4 separate regions of the Homo sapiens genome follow, and all the other regions are linked to region 2. Evidence: promoter capture Hi-C in human tissues and cell types (Jung and others, 2019). All regions are on one chromosome and are shown on one strand. The core of a region is centred on a gene start or on the middle of the fragment in contact, and the rest is flanking DNA. Distances in the headings are between cores, read along the strand shown.

What was found. Contacts are between HindIII fragments. The study calls those that stand out against the background at their distance.
Region 1: a fragment that was not itself captured here is called in contact with the fragment with the promoter of COL4A1 in region 2 in 1 of the 25 tissues and cell types used here (mesendoderm cells).
Region 3: a fragment that was not itself captured here is called in contact with the fragment with the promoter of COL4A1 in region 2 in 2 of the 25 tissues and cell types used here (aorta and mesendoderm cells).
Region 4: a contact is called between a fragment that was not itself captured here and the fragment with the promoter of COL4A1 in region 2, in 2 of the 25 tissues and cell types used here (lymphoblastoid cells and spleen).

The regions. Positions count from the first base shown.
Region 1 is chr13:110,548,291-110,553,102 of GRCh38, reverse strand. The region is part of intron 1 of RAB20 (RAB20, member RAS oncogene family); the gene reads left to right. Among named protein-coding and RNA genes, the nearest start is that of RAB20, 11 kb to the left of the region's middle. The HindIII fragment of the contact is 4,571 bases long and covers 269-4,812 here.
Region 2 is chr13:110,303,868-110,308,406 of GRCh38, reverse strand. COL4A1 (collagen type IV alpha 1 chain) reads left to right here and starts at 1,250. Exons shown (of 52, transcript NM_001845.6): 1 at 1,250-1,463. The coding sequence starts at 1,380. It overlaps COL4A2 (collagen type IV alpha 2 chain), which reads right to left and starts at 1,123. Exons shown (of 48, transcript NM_001846.4): 1 at 879-1,123; 2 at 460-547; 3 at 284-338. The coding sequence starts at 503. RefSeq lists enhancers at 1-660, 661-1,494. The HindIII fragment of the contact is 6,060 bases long and covers 1-3,765 here.
Region 3 is chr13:110,167,498-110,172,419 of GRCh38, reverse strand. COL4A1 (collagen type IV alpha 1 chain) reads left to right here. Exons shown (of 52, transcript NM_001845.6): 42 at 1,688-1,873; 43 at 2,658-2,791. Among named protein-coding and RNA genes, the nearest start is that of LINC03082, 41 kb to the right of the region's middle. The HindIII fragment of the contact is 7,651 bases long and covers 1-4,922 here.
Region 4 is chr13:110,149,291-110,152,091 of GRCh38, reverse strand. COL4A1 (collagen type IV alpha 1 chain) reads left to right here. Exons shown (of 52, transcript NM_001845.6): 52 at 1,648-2,801. The coding sequence ends at 1,729. Among named protein-coding and RNA genes, the nearest start is that of LINC03082, 22 kb to the right of the region's middle. The HindIII fragment of the contact is 3,547 bases long and covers 1-2,801 here.

The DNA of each region.
Region 1 (4,812 bases), core at 1,305-3,804, 240 kb before region 2:
TCTGCTTTATTGACCAGCAACAGTGGCCTGAATATGAATGTGGGTATTAAGATGGGGGAAAGAGAATTAATTGGTTGTCCTGGCCTCAGCAGGAGTGGACAAAGCGACATTATACTCGGAGATTGCAGAGCACAGTGGCCGCTTGCGAGCAGTGTGCGCTGGGAGGCTCGGCCCACAGCCTCCTGGAGTGGCGCCTGGGAATCCTGGGGTGCCAGGGGACCTTGCAGGCTCTTTAGTGCACTGTGGTTCAGGAGAAACTTAATTAAGGTCAACTGTGTTTGTTAACGAGCACCTGAGTCACACTGAATGCCTTTGGGAGACAATTTCATGCTTTGTTATCTTTAAGCTCTCTGGAGAAATAGAAATTTTTATTTATTTATTTATTTATTTATTTATTTATTTATTTATTTGAGATGGAGTCTCACTCTGTCCCCCAGGCTGGAGTGCAGTGGCATGGTCTTGGCTCACTGCAAGCTCCGCCTCCTGGGTTCACGCCATTCTCCTGCCTCAGCCTCCTGAGTAGCTGGGACTACAGGCGCCCGCCACCGCGCCCAGCTAATTTTTTGTATTTTTAGTAGAGACGGGGTTTCACTATATTAGCCAGGATGGTCTCGATCTCCTGACCTTGTGATCCACCCGCCTCAGCCTCCCAAAGTGCTGGGATTACAGGCGTGAGCCACTGCGCCTGGCCCTATTTATTTATTTTTAATTTTTTTTTTTTTTTGAGACAGAGTCTCACTCTGTTGCCCAGGCTGGAGTGCACTGGCACGATCTCGGCTCACTGCAACCTCTGCCTCCTGGGTTCAAGTGATTCTCCTGCCTCAGCTTCCCGAGTAGCTGGGATTATGGGTGCCCACCACCATGCCCGGCTAATTTTTGTATTTTTAGTAGAGACAGGGTTTCACCATGTTGGTCAGGCGAGTCTTGAACTCCTGACCTCAAGCAATCCACCCACCGTGGCCTCCCAAAGTGTTGGGATTACAGGCGTGAGCTACCGCGCCCGTCTTATTTATTTATTTATTTTTTGAGACAGGGTCGTCTTCTGTCACCCAGACTAGAATGCAATGCTGTGATCTTGGCTCACTGCAGCTTTGACCTCGTGGGCTCAAGCAGTCCTCCCACCTCTCAGCTGGGACTACAGCACCACCACACCCAGCTAATTTTTGTATTTTTTTTTTTTTTTTGTAGAGACAGGGGTCTCAGTATGTTGCCCAGGCTGGTCTTGAACTCCTGGGCTCAAGATATCGTCCCTGCTTGTTCTCTTCAAGTGCCGAGATTACAGGCATGAGCTACCATGCCTGGCTGAAAATTTATGATGCCAGATCAAATTGCCCTTCTTTCTGTATTGAGACTTCATATAACATCCCTCTCCAAGAAAAATAAATTTTGTACAAACATACACACACGTACAAACACACACGCCTAAACAGCTGTTGATTCTTAGGATAATGGATTCATCACTGCGACGACAGAGTTCCATGGTCCAGCTGGCCGCGAACGCTGGCCCAGGCAGGTTCCAGCTTCGTTTCAACCCTGGCTTCCCTGGTGCTGTCTCTTCTGCACCTCACTGAGGGGTCTTTCTGCCAGGCCTCCTGGATCTGGTCACCTTCCCTGCTCAGAGCCCCTCCAGCACTCCCCAGCTTATCACTCCTCTTATCTGCCTGCTGGCACTTGAGCCCTGATGTACGATTTGCAGTTCGTCCTGTGTGCCCTGTCTTTGCTCGGTTCTCACAGGTGCTTACAGCGTCTCTGGCCATGCCCAGCTTGAATTTTATCCCATCTTTCAGTGAAGCATTTCTTGGTCTTTGTAGCAGAGGGAAGAATTCCTCCTTCCACCAAACTGCTACAAAGTGACCTTGCACCCCATAGTACATACTGCTGGTTGTCTGTTTTTCTGATCTCTTTTTCTTTCCTTGGATTTATAAACTCCTTGGGTTTTACTCACTTGGAGTTTTCCATAGAATGTAATGTTTTGCTCTGTGATATTTTTGAAACTAAGTTTTTGCTGAAGGAAACTTTTGAAAGCAGTGGGGAAAATTCACAGACTGACATTAGCAGTTTCATTTTCTTAGCGATGTATTGACCCTGAATGATAAAATTAGTGTGGAAATATCATTGTCCTGAGTGCTGTGATACAATAGGCCATTGTGTGCGTGGTAGGGAACTGTGGGTCTGGGACATTAATTATATGGTATCCTAAAAAACTTCTTTAGTAGCTCTTGATTTCTTTTGAGTTCAATATCATTGCAAATCTATTAAAAAGACTAACATACCAGGACTGTGTTTCTGGGAAGTTGGAAAAGATGTATTTTCCCCTACTCTTCCCTCTAATTACAGCCCAAAACCTTGGATTTTATCTTAAAAGCAAACATAAGACTCTGGAAGGTGGCAAGGAGAAGGCAGATCCACTAGATACCTCGGGAATGTGTTTCAGGAAAAAACTCTAAACCCGAGTTTTTCCTCTGCTCTCACAGCGCCACAGCCATCATTGACACAGGAAACTCCTGTGAGCAAAGGTGTAGGGTTTTTCCCACACAGCGAGCAGTGGATACCAGCTGGGTGTCCTCCAGTTTAATTCTGCCACTATCTACCCGGAGGTAGCGTCTCATACCACAGGGTGAGGGCTCAGTCTCACAAGACCACCCCTTCCTTCCCCCTAGTTGCAATTCCAGGCATCTGGAATTTCTGATCCACCGGCTTCAGGTGGGGGTTCCCACGACCCCCTCTTTGGGTTCAATTAATTTGCTGGGAAACGGTTGCTTATGTTTGTTTACTAGTTATTAGACAGGATATTGCAAAGGATACAAATGAACAACCGCATGAAGAGACACATGGAGCAAGGTCTGGAAGGGGTGCCACGGAATTGGGGTGCCACAGAGTTGGGGTCCATGGAGTTGGGGTGCCACAGAGTTGGGGTGCCCTTGTGGCATGGGGGTGAGTTCTTCTTCACCTTCCTGTTGGCCTCCATGTGCTCGGCTTTCTGGGAGCTCCCTGAACCCTGTTTTCTGGGCTTCTTATGGAGACTTCATTGGTTGTCTGTGGTTGAGGCATGGGCATCATGTCAAAATGTGATTGGAAAGGCCGGGTGTGGTGGCTCAGGCCTGTCATCCCAGCAGTGTGGGAGGCCGAGGAGGGTAGATCACTTGAGGGCAGAAGTTCAAGACCAGCCCGGCCAACATGGCGAGACTCTGTCTCTACTAAAAATACAAAAATTAGCTGCGCTTGGTGGCGCGTGCCTGTAGTCCCAGCTACTCAGGAAGCTAAGGCAAGAGGGTCGTTCGAACCCAGGAGGCGGCAGAGGTTGCAGTGAGCTGAGATTGTGCCACTGCACTCCAGCCCGGGCAACAGAGCAAGACTCCATCTCAATTAAAAAAAAAAAAAATTTAAAAAAGTGTGATTGGATAAAAAGGGTGCAGTCTAAGCCCAGCAAGGCCTGTCTGTTCAGATTCCCCAGGCCTCTCTGCAGCATTCCTTCCTCTAGGGTATGGGGCAGGACCCTCTCTGGAAGGAGGGTCTAATGACCCACAATCAGATTAGAGTCCGGCCTGGGCCAGGTGAAAGGAGGACAGGAGAAGGTCAGAGAGAAAGATTTTGTTCCTGAGGCCTAAGGCACCCAACATTATAACAATAGATTGTAACAATGGCTGTAAGAATCATGAGCTAGGAACCGTGGATGAAAAGACACAGTGGTGAGTTCCCTGGATTCCAGATTCAGGGCTGAAGAAGCTAGAAATTCGGAAATGCCAAAGGGCACAGGCAAAATGAATCTGCATTCAAGAATTCAGCTTTTGTCTGAAATATTCCTTCCTGCTTAACCCAAGCTGATACAAATCAACACACTTAACTTTTAGTAGCTTATATTCTAACACAGACCAAGCTAAGCTTGTAGCTCCAAGCAAAGCATTTTGTAAATATTTGCTGATTTGTTTTGTGGACTCACAAGATGTTGATGGCAACGGATGTCTTTCCTCCCTCTGGCCTAACCGCTCTCCGCACACTGGTCTTAAGCCTCTGAAATAGCTCAGCTACCTACTGCTAGGGTTCTGCAAGGAAGTCAGGGTAGTGTCCTATGAAAAACTGGCCTGGGAAGTTTGGAATCATCACACACATGTTCAGGCCTCTGGGTTCTGTAGGGACCCAGCCCTTACCTGGCTGGAGCCCTGGGCTGTGAGAGCAGCAGGCATTTATCATGCTTCTGGGTGCCAGACATCACACTCAGTGCCTTCTGGCATTGTCCATTGTTCCGGCATCCACTTTGTGTGCTTGGTGTTATCCTCACCTCTCGGTGCAGATGAGGAAGCTGAGGCCCAGAGAGCCTAGGGAGCTTGCCACAGGTTGCACTCCAGGTTGGGGAGTGCAGATTTGAGGTGGGTTTTTGTCAAAGTCCACCCTTCCTGGCACTGAGCTGGTTAAGAGGCTACGATGGAGCCTGGACCCCTCACATTGGAGCAGTGCCCACCGACAGACCCCGCATAAAAAAGGAACAGAACAGACCTAACCAAGAAATCAGGTGAGCCCACCGCGCTCCCCTGGTGCCTTCATGAGGATGGAGGCAGGTGAGACTGAATTGTGGACATTTCCAGAATGACAAGAGTTTTTTTTTGTTTTTATTTTTGTTTTTGAGACAGTTTCATTCTCTTGCCCAGGCTGGAGTACAGTGGTGTGATCTCGGCTCACTGCAACCTCCACCTCCCAGCTTCAAGCAATTCTCCTGCCTCAGCCTCCCGAGAAGCTGGGACTACAGGTGCACACCACCACACCTGGCTAATTTTTGTATTTTTTGTAGAATTGGGGTTTCACCATGTTGGCCAG
Region 2 (4,539 bases), core at 1-2,500:
GCAACGAAAACGGTGCCTCAGGCTACATTTTAAGTTCCCAGTTCCCGTGAAAGGCCGACGCTTGCAAAACACAGGATTGACGCTGGGAACCCAAGGGGAAGGAAAGGTGGAAAGCATGATGAGGGAAGAGCAAGCTTTCTCAGAACCTTGGTGGGCAGCCTGGCGAACATCCACACGCACACACACACTCGGGAGCGCACGGACGAGCTGCCTTCTCCAAGGCCACTCAAACGTCCCAACCACTCTCGGGCGCGCAAGTCCAAGCGCGGGAGCCAGGACTTACCGCCAAGACGCTCTGGGCGAGGAACCCCACGGTCACTGTCCCCAGCAGCAGCCACCTGCATGGGAAAGGGAGGAAGAGAGACGTGAACGTGCGGGCCCGGCTTGTCAGTCCCCGAGAGTTACACCGAAGGGTCCATGCGCGCGTGACCCACGGGGACCAGGCAGAAAGTCGCTTACCGCCGTAGGGCAGGGCCGGCCACCGCGCGCTGGTCTCTCCCCATGCTGGCGGTTCGTCCACTCTGGGCCCCGGTCAGTCCCACTTAGCCTAGAGGCGACAGACAAAGCGAGTTTAGCGCAGGATGAGGGAGGCAGCCCATCCTCACCGCCGGTCTCGGTCCGCGAGACGCGGGGACAGCGCGGTGCGCGGCCCGCATGCAGGGGTGACCGGAGGGCCGTCCCCCCCACGACCCGGAAAGAAGGAGAGCCTCCCGTTAGGCCCCTGTGGGTGCTCCTTGGCCGAGGAGCTCGGTCTTCGCTCTCCCACCCTCCCCCTTTCTACTCCCAAGCAGGAGAGCGTGCAGCCCTAGCCTGCACAAGGCGCTCCAAGTCGGTGCTCTCGGGCCAGGGTCTGGGCGCCGCTCGGGGGTCGCTCTCACCTCGGGCTCGGCTTCAGGGGCTGCTGCCCGAACGCATTGGCCCTTCCAGAAGCACCCGCCGGCGGCACACCGGCAGGGCGGCCGGCCTTGCTGGGCTCTCTGGGCGCCGGCCCCGGGGGCTCGGGCGGCCCCTTTCGGTCCTCGGCCTGGATCCGCGAACGCGCGGGCGCGAGGGGTTGGGACGCGGGAGCCTCTTGAGTGCGGAGCGCGGAGCCCTGGTGTCCCGGCGCACTGCAGCCACACTCCCGGGCCGCGCGCTCCCGCCGCCTCTTACCCGCGCCGCAGGGTCCTCCCCTTTGAGGCGCCGCCCGCGCACCGCCGGGGGGGAGGGGGCAGCGCCAACAAATTGGGGAGCTCGGCCCGCCGCGCTCAGGTCTCCGCTTGGAGCCGCCGCACCCGGGACGGTGCGTAGCGCTGGAAGTCCGGCCTTCCGAGAGCTAGCTGTCCGCCGCGGCCCCCGCACGCCGGGCAGCCGTCCCTCGCCGCCTCGGGCGCGCCACCATGGGGCCCCGGCTCAGCGTCTGGCTGCTGCTGCTGCCCGCCGCCCTTCTGCTCCACGAGGAGCACAGCCGGGCCGCTGCGAAGGTGAGTTCCCGGCCAGCTCCGCTCCCGGCGTCCCGCCCCGAGCTTGGGCGCCCCGAGAGGCCCCTTTGTCCGCGCCTGGACCCGTCCGCCTGCCCCTCGGGGGTCGCGCGTGGCACGGCCAGGTGCATTCTCTGGGCCGGGGTTCGTTGGGGGTCCCTGTAGGCTACGATCGCGCATTGGTGGACCGAGCCTCCTTTGTTATGGTATGGGTACTGGAGAGTTAAGGAATTCCTCCGGGGAAGGGAGGAGAAACAGCCCGCGCTGTGGCGGGGTGAGGGTGCCTGGGAGCCGGCGGGATTTGAACCCGCGTCGCGGGTATGCTCGGCAGCTGGGCGCCTTCACCCGTCCCGGGTGCGCGAGGGAGTTGGGGGCTGGAGGGCCGGGAGCGCCCACCCCGCGCTGCTCAGAGACCCACACTGGGAGCTCCGAGCTCCTAGCCCCTGGGAGCAGCTTTGGGCGTATTTCTCCTTGTCTGGAGACCCTGGTGGCTGAGGCTGAAAAGCTCTGGGCCCTTTGCCTGGAAACAGCTGTATCTGAGCTTTCCCACGACTGCTGCCTAAGGCGCGCTCCAAGGCAGAAGTGGGGCTCTTCTGGACGCCCGGCTTGAAGAAGCCACCATCCTCAACTCGTTGCCTTCTATTAATATATATTTTAAAAAATTATAACCACATTCATATTTGAGCATGAAACCAAAGTGAAACTCCATGTCATTGTTCCATGCACAAATTGTTTTTCTAGTTTTCATTTCCTTTGGTTATGTGCTTGCCCAGAAAGGATCTGGGAGATCGGTTTGCAGGAGGTTTGCAGGAGTCGAGGCTTCCAGCCGTGGACAAGCCTGGACTGACTGTTGTTTCCTTTTTTCCTTCCCCTCCGAGAGAATAAAGACTTCAGCTGTTGCTCAGTGTCACAGCCATGCAGTCCCACAGGCCGGAAGGTGTGGCTTCTGAACAGATTTTGCAGTTTCTCCCTCAAATGCTTAAAAATGATTTTTGCTACTTACCAGATTTTCCATACTTATTCTTTTACTGTTCTTAATCTTGTTCTTTGTTTTCCTCTTTAAAAAAAAATTTTACTTCTCTCCTGGAAGAATGATACTCACTAAATCCACTTAACTGTATAGAAATTGTTAACTGTTACATGCCAGAGAGAACTGGTGATATACACACACGTCTCCTAATTGAGAGCTTATCTCCCTGGAGGCAGCTTCTCCACTGGGTATTGAAAGGACTAATGATTACATCAGCAATTAACTTCAGATTGTACCTCCCAGCCCAGTCTCCCCAAACTTCATAGCCAGTTATTTAAACACTCTTTGGTAATGATGACAAAATACTTTCCAAAGAACAGGCTTGAGAGCACTTTATTTTGGTCTAGAAATATTGACCAAAAGATTGAACGCTTCCAAGGTGAGATGGTGAAGCCTGATGATGGTAAGGTAAATCAGAGAAAGTTCTTCATTGGGAAATAGGAGCTGTTTGCATTTCGATTTTCTGATGGATAATGTTAGCAAAGCAAAGAAAGCTAACTGTAAGAGCTGGCTTTCCAAACATCCAGGACTGTAGAAAGAAAGAACCACTCAGTTACGCAAATCCTGTTCTCACCCGGGAAATCAAACGCATTAATGTTGAGTTGGAGATGATTTTACTTCCCTTTAATCATTTCCTAAAGCTCAATTACATTCCCGGCCACTGTCTTTGCAGTGTCCCTTGAGGTGCCATGGACTGTTTTTAAGAGATGCAGCCTGTGGGCACTTCTGATCACAGCTGACCTCACAGATATTATCATTACTCTGTATTTTCCCTGGCTTAATTAGAGAAAAGTGCTTAATGTGCAGATGATGTATGGGTATACAAGAAAATCACTTAAAAACTGAATCTGCCTAATTTTAAAATTTGTCTCACTTTTCATGCCATCAATAACATTTTGGCTTACCTCCTTCCAAAATCAGCTGTTAGATGTACCATAACACTGAAATAGCTTCAATACTGATCCAAGCAAAACATAATTTAAAAGCACATTTTGAATGATAAGATGCTGTGGATTTGATCAGATCCTCATTCAGAAGCCAGTGGAAGTGACTGTTGGCTTACCTCTCCTTTGCACTGTCTGAATCACACTTCACCTGCATTTGTACATCCAGACATCACCTGCTGTGTGCCAGGCATGAATTGCCCTTATTGTTTTTTCTTCATGAAAGGCTGTTTAATTTTGTATTTGCTGTATCTGCTATGGTCATATTGTTTACGTACTCATGGGTGGATTTTCTAAACCATTGATTTTATCCCACGCTGAACCTACCACTCTACTCCCCGCTCCTCCCTTCCTCCACTTTTCTTCAGCAAGAAAGGAGGAATAGCTTGCAGGCTCCAGACAAACACGTGCCAGCAGTGTTCTGATTGTGAGCACCCTCTACTCTTAGTCACTCAGTTGCACTGGGCGGAATGAACCCTTCCTGCAGCAGCTTTCACACTCCCCTCTAGCTGGTTCTGTGTGATGCTTCTTAACAGATTATTTCTCAGGATTAGAAACGTGAACTTTCCCCTCAGTGTGGTGATGCTTGTCCAGCAATACTGTCATCTCCTGACCATTAGTCACCACCTCTGGGACTGAATGACCTAGAGTTCAAACTAAGTGAGATTTCATTCCCATATAAGTATGGACCATGTTCTACTGGAAATGTAGTTTAGAAGAGAAGGCTGGTTTCTGAATCAGTCCCAACAAGAGCAGCATCGCCCAGGATCTCAGGAGTGATATTGGTGAAGCTATTCCTTATATCTGCAAGCTCTTTATATTAATAGATGGAATTGGACTAGGGTGAAGGGACATAACTTTAAGACCAACCAGAAGACACAATGTTCATGTACTCTGACTAGATTCACAGAATTATCAATGCTATATATTATTAATAGTCACGTGTACACAGGATGAGTGTGCTTTAGGCACCAGAGGACCTTACATTTTATACCTGCTTTTAAGCAGATGATTTGGGGGTACTCATCAAACTCTATACCTCAGTTTCCCTGGCAGGTCTGTCCCTTCCTCACACGGACCCGTTTGTGCCTTCCTTCATTCCACA
Region 3 (4,922 bases), core at 388-2,887, 140 kb after region 2:
GAATATTGAAATTCTGACTTTCTAGAACTGGTTATACTTATGTGAATGCAGGACAGTATGTAGCACACACCACGAGACAAAAACATGCCCTGCGCAGCCACGATGTGCTCAGTACTAAGTGCAGCTGAGAGTTGGCCAGGAGCTTGGGAAGGCAGTCTCTTCTCTCAGAGAGCTGAGCATTTCATGGGAAAGCAAAGGGGACACAGAAAATACAAGGCATGTGAGCTGCACGACACTGAAGAGAAGCCACAGGTGGCCGCAGCCAGGAGCTCACACACAGCATCCATGGGCATGCTTATGGCCCGTGGCTGGGCTGGCTGAGTGATCCCACTCAGTGGGAGGATTCAGAAAGCCCTGGAAGGCCTTGGACTTCAGCTGAGAAGGAGCAGGGGCACGGAGGTGTTGTTTCTCCCACCCCCTGGTTCTCCCCGAGACCAGCCCAGAGTGTTTCCTTGGCAGGCATGTAGTCTGACACTGGGAACCCCTGGGTTGAGAAGGATGGCCTGGTGCCGGGTGGGCTGCCTTGGGAATGGACACTTCCCTCTCCCTTAACTCACAGAATCCCTCAAACACAGAGCCCCTTGCAAATGCACCTGCTCAAGGGGTCGCTGTGGGCTGTTCCTGCCCTGCCTTTCCTACCTTGCCATGTGATCCCGCACACTCCTTTGGACATGCTGCACTGCCCTTGCACAAACTCTACGCAGCACCTTGCGTTTTCCACTCATTGCTGTGTGAAATAGCAGGGAGAATCCCCAGGAGAAGAGAATCCCAAATGACCACTTTAGGTCTTGACCCTATTTCATTCCCTTTTCCTTTGTTTTGGAAATAACCTTAGAATTTTGGCATTTTTATTGGTAAGATTTGGATACTATGTTTAAAACTAAACATAGAATTTCTTTTTCCTACAAGCTGTTACTTTTTAATTTTTTAAACCTGCTCTATTGAAGTTTCACTGACAGGTCATAAACTACAAATATTTAAAGTGGACAATTTGATAAGGCTGACATAGGTCTACACCATGAAAACATCCCCACATTCTAGATAGCAGGCAAAGCCTTCCCCCAAAAGTCTCCTCCGTGGCTTCATAATCCCCCCCTCCTGCCCTCTCCCCATTCCCCAAGCAACCGTCCATCTGCCTTCTGGTCCTCTAGGTTAGTTTGCATTTTCCAGCAGTTTACAAAAATAAAACCATACACTTCGTAGTCTTTTCAGCCTGACTACTCTCCCACGACATAATTCGTTTGAGATCCAGCCCAGTGGTTGCTCACTTCTTTCTATGGCTGAGTAGTGTCCCACTGCATGGATATAACATGATTGGCTTGTCCAGCCCATTCATGTGCTGATGGAGTGAGGCTTTCGTTTAGCAGTGCAGTTGCTGCAGATGTCTTTAAACACAATTCAGATGCCTTTGCCATAGAACACGTCTCGTGAGAAGTATGAAAACGATAGCTGGGTTCCTAGCATTCTGAGCTCTTTTTCCAGCCAGGCCATGGTCGGATTCTAGTGTGTTATTAAAGAGAAGGAGGGATCGGAGCCCTTGCTGCAGTTTCCTGTGGTGTCCCTGGAAGCTCCCTCTGAGCGGTACCTACAGGATGAGGCACGCCTCATCCCATCTCTGCCGTCCACGCTGGAGATTACTGTTCTGCTGCTGCGTTTCCCATCACCTCAAACTGTTTTTCTTGTTCAGGTTCAAAGGGTGAGGTGGGTTTCCCAGGATTAGCCGGGAGCCCAGGAATTCCTGGATCCAAAGGAGAGCAAGGATTCATGGGTCCTCCGGGGCCCCAGGGACAGCCGGGGTTACCGGGATCCCCAGGCCATGCCACGGAGGGGCCCAAAGGAGACCGCGGACCTCAGGGCCAGCCTGGCCTGCCAGGTAAGGGCATCTCGCCAGGGGCCAGGGCTGAGGACTGGGACAGAATTCACAAAAGGAAATAGCGTAAAAGAAATAGTTAAATTCTCAATTGGGCTTTTTTATTTAGAAGTCTGCAGCATTTATTACAGCTTGAAATTGTGTTTGGCCCCCATCGAGTCAAAGCTTTTCTTGTATCCTTTCTGTCAAGGAATTTAAGTAATTAGGGAGATGCAAGAAAGGAAATGATTGGACAAGCCTGGACTCGTGCCCCGTCGGTGGCGTTGGACTTAAACCAGCGCAGCACTTGGGCCCACTTGTGGGTTCTGGTGAAGACCCCCGTAGTGGTAGCACAGATGCCCGGGCACCACTGACCGCAGGCCATTTTGGACACGGAGACAGTGGCATTTCTATGTCTGTCCTTCCTTCCTTCCTTCCTTCCTTCCTTCCTTCCTTCTTTCCTCCCTTCCTCTCTCCCTCCCTCCTTCCCCTCCCCTCCCCTCCTCCCTCCCCTCCTTCCTCCCTCCTTCCCTCCCTTCCTTCCTTCCCAGACCTTCCTCAATTTCTGTCTCAAGGGTTCACATTGTCGGTCCAGTGTTTTATCAGAGATAGTAGTGTTTCTATTCCCTCCCTCCCTCCCTCCTTCCTTCCTTCCTGGACCTGCCTCGATTTCTGTCTCAAGGGTTGTCACTGTTGGTCCAGTGTTGTATCAGTGAGGGGCCGTGGGTGGCAGTATTGATAGCCCCACAGCCCAGGGACACTTGTGCATATTTAACCCCAAATGTGTGGCTTTCTTCTCTTCCATTAGGACTTCCGGGACCCATGGGGCCTCCAGGGCTTCCTGGGATTGATGGAGTTAAAGGTGACAAAGGAAATCCAGGCTGGCCAGGAGCACCCGGTGTCCCAGGGCCCAAGGGAGACCCTGGATTCCAGGGCATGCCTGTGAGTTATTGATTTGTAGATTTTTATTTTTAAAGGAGTCTTTTCTGGCCAGAAGTATTCATATGTGTCTATGTGTGTATGTATTTTGTGTATGTATATATATGTGTGTGTGTGTGTGTGTGTGTGTGTGTTACACTCCCACATCCCCACTAAATCAGTTCTTTCTTTCTTTCTTGCCAGTAACCCACATCTTTATTGGCATCAGAGTAGGAAACTATTGTAACATTTTTTTACAATCCAGTTTTCCAAGAACCATAAAAGGGAAATGTTATACTGCTGGAAATTATGGCTCAATGCCTAAATTTAAGACCTATTTACAAACTCAATGTAAAAAGCAAGCCAATGTTGTTTTGCAGAGAACAATTCTGTAAAACTAGCCCAGCCATCTCTTAGGACTGGCAGGAGGACAGGGAATTGCAGTTGAACAGTTCAAGTCATAAAAGATAACCAGCAATATTCCATCTTTCTTTACTGACCTGATCCAGATACAGAGTCTAAGTGGTGACTTAGACAAGCCTTCAGAAGAGCACATCTCAGGGTGCAATAAGTGACCAGCAGCCTTGTGTATTTCTGTGTGTGTGTGTGTGACTTTGGCTCTTTGCTGCACCTGAATATATAGCCCTTCTTAGTGGTGGTCATGGATCTTTGGTTTGATTTTTAGCTTAACCATGTCCATGGCTAAAGGATTGTGTTTACGTGGCTCGCTCATTCAAATAGCTGGATTAGCAGAGCTTTATTCTCTGTGTCTGTCTCTCTGTTTCCTCTATCTGTCTCCATCTGTCTGTCTCTCTGTCTCTCTCTAACACACGTTAGGAGAAAGAGAGAGTATATCAGGGGAGATCATGAATAGGAGGGATTTGAGACAGACCTCTGCAGTTATGTTGGAGCAAGCGGGGTTCTTCTGTAAGTCAACACATGTTCTCCCTTAAAGGGAAAGCTTTGAACTGCTCATCAGCAGCAGAGACATATCTTAGAGTCATCAGACTACTTTCTCAAGGATGGATACAGAATAGCTAAGCTTGCTGGGTGCAAAACAATACGTGGTGCTGATTTACTTCTGAATCAGTAAGTTATGAAATGCTTATAAATAATTATGCAGAACTGGCTATAAGGAGTAGCAACAGTCATGTTTACCCATTCCTTGTCCTCAAAGCTGTGTATATCTCCACAGTATAGCAAATGTGTATGTGAATGTATTTTTGGGCCCCTATTGCTATATTGCAGTTTTCCAGTAATGTAAGCCTAGGTAATTTGTCAAATATTTATGTATTCTCATTTTTATTCCTCAGTAACATAGAAATATACCCCATTCCCGGCTGGGCCTGGTAGCTCACGCCTGTAATCCTAGCACTTTGGGAGGCCGAGGTGGGCAGATCACCTGAGGTGGGGAGTTCGAGACCAGCCTGGCCAACATGGCAAAACCCTGTCTCTACTAAAAATGCACAAGTTAGCATGGTGGCTCATGCCTGTAATCCCAGCCACTTGGAAGGCTGAAGCAGGAGAATTGCTTGAACCTAGGAGGCAGAGATTGAAGTGAGCCGAGATGGTGCCACTGCACTCCAGCCTGGATGACAGAGCGAGACTCTGTCTCAAAAAAAAAAGAGGAAGAAAAAGAAATACACCCCATTCCTGGTGCCAGTCAGTGTCTGTCTGTCTCTGTATACATACTTATGTATAAATATGTGTTTGTATATATGTTTATATACATATATATTTGTTCATGTTATTTTGGTTTGACACTTTTAAAATAAGGCTAAGAAACAAATCTACGTAAGAAATAAAACAACTTGTTACATGTTGCTGTCCACGACTTGAGAAAGGAACGACTTGTTGAAATGGAAAGAAAATGAGCCCCTATTTTAAAATACACGAATATTGCCACAGTATAAAGGAAAATACTCGTTCCTTAGCATTTCTTAATTTTCTTTGCATATTTAAAATCAGTTTTCAGATAAGACATGAAACTAATTCTAAAGAAAACTGATTGCACTTGAGGATTAAGGGGAAAGTTTTCAGAAAAGCTCGTTGGCTGGTGCTGGATGGCTATGTTGCCGTCACAGGTGTTGAGGGGGCCCTGGCTCTGTCTATGGCATCGTGCTGTGAGCTGGAGGTGGCAAGGGCAGGACATTTG
Region 4 (2,801 bases), core at 302-2,801, 160 kb after region 2:
AGGTGAGTGTACTAAAATGTAATTAAAGCAACTGAAATCTCCAAACAGAGCATGTTTGAAATACAGTATATTTAACAATCCCGGGGAGAAGAAGTGAGCAGCGTTCATTTTCATGCCATTCATAACACTGATCGTAATGTACACTTTGTGTAAGTTCTGAGTGACTTCACAAGGTATTTTTTTAGACCTGTGCAAATAAAAATTAATTTCAGCACAAATTCAGCTGAAACTGAGAGGGAAGACCCTTCCTTCCTTTTCCATTACCAAAATCTCACCTTTAAAATGACTGGCCCAAGTGGCTACTAACCTTGCTGGAGTTGACTGGGAGCCGGGCCGGTCCCCGAAGGCCAGGAACGCATAATGAACCCTCTATCCCGAGCCCCAGCTGCAGCCCCGCTGGAGCCAATGCAGGAGGCTGACGGAGCTGGCACAGCTGCTTACTGTTCATTTCCAAAACAAGCGCTTCTCACCCCTGGAGATGAGCCTTTCCATCTTCACCTTTTTGGAGAGAATTATATGGAACCCTGCTATGATCCTGTCTCTTTCCAGCTTAGATAGTAAGAGGCAGAACAACATACACGCTTCTCTAATTCGTTACTCATCCAAAAAGTGCCGCGTGCCTAACTGGTGGTTTATTGGAGCCTTTCAAGGAACTGGAAACTTGACATCCATGCTGCAGATAGAGTTTAACCATTCACTACCAAAATGAGCGCACTTTGTTCATGCCTCAGCCCTTGCGGTGTCCTCTTATAAGGTTGATAGGTAATGATGGGTTTTTTTTTTTTAACCAGCAGCCTGATACAATAAACTAAAATGTTTTCCCAAAGCAAATTAGGTAAGATCCCATTAATTTAAATAATAAACTTGAGGGTACTAGAATTTGCACCAAAAGTTAATAAAATAAGCAGCCTCAATTTTAGGATGAGGCACTCTCATAAATGGCTATTTTAATTTAGTTTAATTAATTTATTTATTTTAATAGAATTTTCTCAGTAACAATTTTAGTTCAGATTTTACCTTTTCAACAATCAAAATAATGTAGAGTTTCTAAGCTTGAGAAACACTTGGGACATTGAATGTCTTTCCCTCTTTTTGGTCTCAAAGCAGACCATCTGCATAGAAATCCTTCAAAAGTTATAAAAGTATTTCGAGGTCTAGGGAATTACTCCAGATTTATTACTCATCACATCATTCCACAAATATTTAATGAATACTTACTGTGTGTGTAAAGTGTTGCAGAGAAGAATAATATCTTCTTCTTACCCTGGAGGAGTTTATGATCTAGTGGAGGAGAATGGAAAAAAAGTGAAATTGTAGTACGAGGAGGCAGGGTGGCACAGAGGGGAATGGCCAAGGCTTCGGAGCCAGACTGATGTGGCGGGACTTCAGCTGTGCCCTATGGGGCTGTGGGCACTGGGGCAGGTGCCAGGGCCTGGGTGTGCAGCTGGTAACCTGCAGTGTTCTGTGTGCGTGGGACCGTGTGTGCACTGCACCCAGCACCTGCCTGCTCACTGGGTGGTACCAGGTTGAGGCCTGATGCCAGGGGCTGGGCTGATCCCTTAGAGATTTCCGAGCAGGGCAGGAGTGCCATGTTTCTGACGTGCTGTGAGATGATGGCCAATGGTCTGTCTCTGTGTCGTGTTTTAGGAAGCCTACGCCGTCCACCTTGAAGGCAGGGGAGCTGCGCACGCACGTCAGCCGCTGCCAAGTCTGTATGAGAAGAACATAATGAAGCCTGACTCAGCTAATGTCACAACATGGTGCTACTTCTTCTTCTTTTTGTTAACAGCAACGAACCCTAGAAATATATCCTGTGTACCTCACTGTCCAATATGAAAACCGTAAAGTGCCTTATAGGAATTTGCGTAACTAACACACCCTGCTTCATTGACCTCTACTTGCTGAAGGAGAAAAAGACAGCGATAAGCTTTCAATAGTGGCATACCAAATGGCACTTTTGATGAAATAAAATATCAATATTTTCTGCAATCCAATGCACTGATGTGTGAAGTGAGAACTCCATCAGAAAACCAAAGGGTGCTAGGAGGTGTGGGTGCCTTCCATACTGTTTGCCCATTTTCATTCTTGTATTATAATTAATTTTCTACCCCCAGAGATAAATGTTTGTTTATATCACTGTCTAGCTGTTTCAAAATTTAGGTCCCTTGGTCTGTACAAATAATAGCAATGTAAAAATGGTTTTTTGAACCTCCAAATGGAATTACAGACTCAGTAGCCATATCTTCCAACCCCCCAGTATAAATTTCTGTCTTTCTGCTATGTGTGGTACTTTGCAGCTGCTTTTGCAGAAATCACAATTTTCCTGTGGAATAAAGATGGTCCAAAAATAGTCAAAAATTAAATATATATATATATTAGTAATTTATATAGATGTCAGCAATTAGGCAGATCAAGGTTTAGTTTAACTTCCACTGTTAAAATAAAGCTTACATAGTTTTCTTCCTTTGAAAGACTGTGCTGTCCTTTAACATAGGTTTTTAAAGACTAGGATATTGAATGTGAAACATCCGTTTTCATTGTTCACTTCTAAACCAAAAATTATGTGTTGCCAAAACCAAACCCAGGTTCATGAATATGGTGTCTATTATAGTGAAACATGTACTTTGAGCTTATTGTTTTTATTCTGTATTAAATATTTTCAGGGTTTTAAACACTAATCACAAACTGAATGACTTGACTTCAAAAGCAACAACCTTAAAGGCCGTCATTTCATTAGTATTCCTCATTCTGCATCCTGGCTTGAAAAACAGCTCTGTTGAATCACAGTATCAGTATTTTCA